Regions from separate parts of the Homo sapiens genome. Here region 1 is linked to region 2. Evidence: promoter capture Hi-C in 16 types of primary human blood cells and fetal thymus (Javierre and others, 2016). All regions are on one chromosome and are shown on one strand. Each heading gives the region's core, a stretch centred on a gene start or on the middle of the fragment in contact. The rest is flanking DNA. Distances are from core to core; before and after follow the strand shown.

Region 1 (3,076 bases), core at 526-3,025, 150 kb after region 2:
TTCCTTGACGGGCTCTGCACCTCTCCTTTCCTATCCCGTCCTCCTGTCTTTTGACACCGGAAGCTTGGCCTGGGTACCTGGTTCTCCCCCAGTTGGTGTCCCAAGTGTGGGTGCTGTCTCCAAAGTCCCCTTAGACTTGGTCAAGAGGGGCCCCTGCCTTGGGCCTTCTAGTTGCCCTTGTTCCACAGAGTGAGGAGTCTGCAGGGCCAAGGGCCATGCTCATGGGGTCCACACTCCCCTTCTAGACCCGCTCAGCTACCTAAAACCCCAGCATTCCCTCCCCAGTGACTCCCAGCCCACGCTCAGGCCTGTCCTCTGGAGAGCAGACTGCCGGGTGCTGGGCACACCTCTAGGCTGTCTGCAGATTGTGGTTGTGTAGGCAAGGGAGCAAAGCCAGGGGTAGGAAGAGAAAGGGGCAGGCTGCAGGCCAGGAGCTGGGAATTCTCTCCATGCTGCCACATTCCAGAGTTCTGGAACTCTGACGAGTCCAAAATTAAAATCTCCAACTGAGCCTGGCCTACTGGGTCCGTCTGTGGGAGACTCAAACCTCTTGGTCCACTGGCCTGGAGACATTTTAGAAGTGGAGGCTTTGTCTCGGAGCATGGAGGGGATAGGCCTGCCTGGGCTCCCGGCCTGCTGACTGTGTTCTGCTTGACACCAGGCCAGCTGGGCTAAGCGTTCAGATGTAAAGAGGAAGCTGCTGGGGCCTCCTGACAGCAGATGCAAAGCTGAGGTACCCAAACACCTCGACCTTTCTCAGGGGCTCATGTAAGCAAATTGCTTTATCAGCTTTATCAGTTTTTACATTTTCCTTACGCATTTTCATAGAATTTGCCCCATATTCCATGCCATTTTCTCAGGACATCCTTTTGAGCATCCTGGACCCAACCGTCTTCATATAAGAAGAAAAATTTTAGTTTTGGTTTCATCCATGATTATCCTAGACCCAAACATTTAGAAATAAGTTGTTATATGGAATAGCCACCCGAAGGTGTGAGTTTGGGCATAAAAAGCACACATTGCATATATCCTTATCTGTATAGAGTCACGTGGACCTGATTCTGCCACCTTCTGGCTGCGTCACCTGGGGCAAGTTATTTAACGCCTCTAAGCCTCAGGTTCCCCATCTGTAATCTGAAGCCCTGGCCTAGTAGATCTCTAGATAAACTCTAACATCACTCCTACCCCTAAAACTCTGGTACTTACCCCCTTTACTCTTCCTTCTTTATTTTGCATTCAGCCCAGGGATCTCATCTTCCCAAAGCTTCTTTCATGTTCCTGCCCCTTTTACCTTCACAGTTCCTGACATTGGAGAAGGCAGTGTTTTAAAGCCCAGCTCCAATGCCCTTTAATCCAGAAAGCCACACTCTTCAGTCGCTACATTGGAAGACCCACCTTGGAGGCTGGACGGAAACCTGGGGGTTCACCCAGCTCAACCCCCTCATTTAACAGGAAGGGAAACTGAGGGCAAAATGAGGCAGTGACTTAGAGACAGAGCCAGGTCTGGAACCCAAATGCCCTTTAACCTTGCCACCTCTGGGATCCACAACCCTCAGGGCCACCATTTTAACTTGCACATATTATTATTACTGTGATCATCTGTGCTTCCTTAGAACCTTAATACCTCTGAGGGCCAGAATCACATTGTGTTCATTCTGTAGCCACCCTGTCCTGCGCCAACCCTCCAGCATCATCCCTGTACCAGATGGTACCTCAATAAGTGTCTGTTAAGTTTCACTAAACATAAATCCCATTTTGATCGTTGCAAAAAAACCACGTCTCATTTGAAGACCTCCCTGTGTTCTTATATCTGACTACTGTTGTGGTAGAGCAAACTGAAAGGGTTTGCAAAAGCCGATTGTTAAATTTTGAAGAACGTTGTGAGCTGTTATTAAACATAGCCATAATTCAAATTAAATTATGTAAAATTATAGTTAAATACATTGCATTAAAAACAAAGGGAAGAAATGTTTAAAACTCATCATTTTCTAATTTTATTATACTTTACTTTGATATATTATCAAAGTTCTTGTGGTTGTTGACATTTATTGAATCTACATGCAGAAATCCCCTACCATGGTGTTCACATCTCTTTCCAGCCTGTAATCAGTGACATCATGTTGGTAGCTTGAAATCACCTTTGTGGGAGAATTTACCCCAAGCGAACTGGCAAGCACTACAAATCAGAGCTTGGTTTATTGTTTGGTTGATTGTCTGGAGCTGCACAGCCTCACACAGCTGCCACTAGTTCCATGTGGCTAACTGAGCACTTGAAATGTGGCTAGTCCAAGCTTAGATATGTCATATGTACTGGATATTGAAGATTCAGAATGGAAGAAAAGAATGTAAAATATATCATCAAAAATGTTTATATTGATTATCTATTGAAAGAATAGTGTTTTCTATATATTATGTCAAATATATTAGAATTAATTTAGTCTATTCCTTAAATGTGGCTACTAGCAGATTTTAAATAATATCTGTGGCTTTCATTGCATTTCTACTGGACAGCTCTGGTCTAAATTTAATAAAGTGATGGGGAAAATGTTTATAACGTAGATTAAAATTAAAAGTATGTTGTGCCCATTGATAATAACATTATGAATAGCCAAAAAATACAAAATAATATCCCGGTATTTAAAACCCATTATCTGATTCAGCCAAAAAGTCACTCACATCATTGAGGAGCAAGTAAGTTCCAACATTCATCTTCATCATTTCACGTTCATCTTAACTGTGAAGATGAACATGGGAGCTAACATTCATGTGGGGGCTATGCTGGTTTGTTGGTTGCAGCCACTGGCCAGCCATGGGCATAAGAGTTTGTCAAAAGCCAACTGAAAGCATTCCATGAGGGTCACTTGGCTGTATCAAGTTTATAATAAAGAGTATTGTAGGGCTGGGCACGGTGGCTCACGCCTGTAATCCCAGCACTTTGGGAGGCCGAGGTGGGTGGATCATGAGGTCAGGAGATCGAGACCATCCTGGCTAACATGGTGAAACCCCATCTCTAATAAAAATACAAAAAATTAGCCGGGCGTGGTGGCGGGCGCCTATAGTCCCAGCTACTTGGGAG
Region 2 (3,024 bases), core at 406-2,905:
TTACCAATATGGGGTTTTGAACCATAGCACTTCAGTACCATTCCCCTATCCAGTCTCTAAGAAAGCTGTACACTGGTACATCAGGAAGTTGGAAGGGTTGATTCTATTTAAGCTCTGGTTTGCCTATATCTGAAAACTGATGCCAGGCATCCCTGGCAGAGAATGGGGAGCAGAGTAAACTACATTTGGGGTGGGATATGGTACTGGGAGGTAGGAATTCTCAGATTGTAAGTCCTATCCAACATCGCAGATATTCCATTGGCTATGTGTAGAGCTGGAAGAGAACTTACAGACCCTTTACCCCAGCCCCTCATTTTAGAGAGGAAGAACCCAAAACTTACAGAGGTTATCCTTCATTCTCAGACATAACCATTCCATCTCCACATAGACATGGTGTGTGGGATGTCAGTTCTTTTGGGTTATCCACATCACTGTTCCCACTCATCTGCCTGGAAGCCAGTGACTACCAGTGGTCATTCCCTGCAATTTCCCTGAATCTAGGCAACTTGGCCGAATTTTGATACCCCATGTGGGGGTATGAATTCTTCTTCTTTTTTTAATTACTCAACTCCATTCTCTACTTTTCTAAGCCTGAATAGATGAGGCCACTCAGCCTCAGAAACTATGAAAACTTCATAAGGAACAAAAGGATCTCAAAGAATAAAACCTCTTAAGCATATACCAGCCAACACCTGGCTAAAGTCCCAGTGTTTCCAGCCTGTTTCAGAGACATTTCTAAGTGACCAGATGCAACATCTTAGTTTGTCGAGATGCCCTCGAGTTTGGCTGGATGCTCCTCTGTCCTCCAGAAGATATCAACACTGTCGGAATCTATCCCACCATGCAGCTCGTCCTCTGGCTTGGCCTTGCTCTGCAGCAGAGCAACCCATAAAGCATACCACAATGCCTGAGGTAGGCACTTGAAAGATCTGAGGTCAAGGTCAAGTCCCCAGAACCGGGCCAGTTCTTTTTAAGGGAAAGAGCACTCTAGCGCATTTTGGCTGTAATATTCCTAGACCCAGAGATTCAGCTATCATAGGTACCTTGTCAATGAAGGAGGCAAACTTGTTGTTGAGGGTCTTGATTTGCTCCTTCTCATCCTTCTTCACCCTCTGGGCATTGGGGTCAATCTCCAGGTTGAGGGGGGTCAGTAGGCTCTTGTTCACAGTCACAGCTGTGATAGATGGGGCTGCTGGGACTCCAACCCCTCCAACTCTGTAACCAAAGCCAGGGCCACCAAAGCCATAGCCAATGCCACTGCCAGCTCCAAAGCCCAGACCAACACAGCTGTCAGCCCTAGGCCCCAGACCAACACCTCTCCCATCACCAAAACCCATCCCACAGCCAGCACCAAAGCGGACTCCACAGTGGATGGGCCGAGAGCCTACAGCTGCTATCCGGGGTGAGTACGATCCAAAGGTGATGACACTCCGACTACCAAAGCTGCCAAGGCCCCGGAATCCAGGCCCACTCCAACAGGAGACAGAGTTGGCCCGGAAGCGATTCAGGTTCTGTGGTGTCATTGCTGAACAAGAGCTGAAGTTGCCCACCCGGTGACCAGAGCTGACTCGGTAGGAGCGGCAAGACATGATGGCTTCCTGGTTGGGAGCAAAAGAGCAAGTGTAGAATGGGTGAGCTGGAGCTGGGAGTCCCTCTGAGGCCAGTGGAACCCTTGCACCCCTTTTATGTGTGTGGTGATCTGAGGCTTGGCCCCATAAAAATGAAAAAATCCATTTGCAGGCATTTATGAGCTTGGGTAGTTAGCAGAAACTCTGCATGCCTATAACCTCCTTGACAATGAGTTAACTCAGACACACCTAGTCTCATTGGGATGAGGGCTGTAACAGCAAACCAATAAACATTAAAAACACATAAACATATAAACATTATAGTCTTTTTTTTCCCTATAAGTCTACCACAATTGCCATTAAGGGGACATTAATTTGCTTTGGTCATAAATGCAATAGGTTTTTTCACTGTGAGTGTGGCTAACCACCAGAAAGTTAGGATGGCGACAGCTCCAGCAAGAGGCTCACATGGGATGCATCCATGAAGATATAACCCCCTAAAGAGGTGGGAGTGTGTGCACATCTCCAAGTAAGAAGTGATATGGAGAAAATACAGTTTGTTGCATTTCTGCAAATCAATTAAATCATCAAAAAACCTTCTGCCATGTTTTATCCAATATGGCTGTTTAGTATACAAGAGTTGAATCTACAGTAAAGCTCATTTGGGCTAGTGTAGACACATCTGTGATTTGAGACACTCAGAGATATTCATTCATTCTACAGTTTTAGAGTGCCTGCTATGTATCCAGCAGTGTGCTTGCTGCTGAGGGTACAGAGATTACAAAGACAGTCTCTATCTTCATGGTAGTAGGGGAAGATTTATCTTAAATTTTTTTTTTTTTTTTAGAGACATGATCTAGTTGCCCAGGCTGGTCTTGAACTCCTGGGCTCAAGTGATCCTCCCGCCTCCGCCTCCCAGATAGCTGGGACTACAGGCATCCACCACCATGCCCAGCAGAACATTTATCTTGAGGATTTCCAGCAGTCAACACTTTGTGGCATGATTTGAGGCCAAAGCATTGGAAAGTTTCTGTATAGAAAGCTAACTACATGATTTTTAGCCCCCAAATATACCATAGGTGTGATTTATGGGCCTGTCCATTTAGGTTCCTTGAATTATTGATGAATCTTTGGTTAGGATAGAGAGACACAAAGCAATATACATCTGGATAGAAAAGGAAAAGTTCTCAGCAGCTGAATATTATCATTGTTAGCAATATTGCAGCTCTTTTAGGACCCTGAGCCAGGCTGGTGTTTACCTTTTCTATTCTAGTGCATCCTTTGCCCAGGGGAACTCATGTTTGACTGGACGCTTGAGATTCTTTGGGATGCTTGCAATTCCACTTGGAAGGGGATGTATGCTTTTGACCAGAAGCATCCAGCTCATTTGTGCGGTATTTTCTTTTTCCAGCTATCAGCTGTATGTCTAAGGGGGAAATGAAGCAGAAAAACAATA

Evidence for each region. Contacts are between HindIII fragments. The CHiCAGO score rates a contact against its expected background, and 5 or more counts as called.
Region 1: a fragment that was not itself captured here is called in contact with the fragment with the promoter of KRT84 in region 2 in 2 of 17 cell types (M2 macrophages and M0 macrophages); the score reaches 7.1 in M2 macrophages.

The regions. Positions count from the first base shown.
Region 1 is chr12:52,533,605-52,536,680 of GRCh38, forward strand. No RefSeq gene overlaps it. Among named protein-coding and RNA genes, the nearest start is that of KRT5, 15 kb to the left of the region's middle. The HindIII fragment of the contact is 1,027 bases long and covers 1,263-2,289 here.
Region 2 is chr12:52,383,997-52,387,020 of GRCh38, forward strand. It overlaps KRT84 (keratin 84), which reads right to left and starts at 1,656. Exons shown (of 9, transcript NM_033045.4): 1 at 1,044-1,656. The coding sequence starts at 1,589. The HindIII fragment of the contact is 9,508 bases long and covers 1-3,024 here.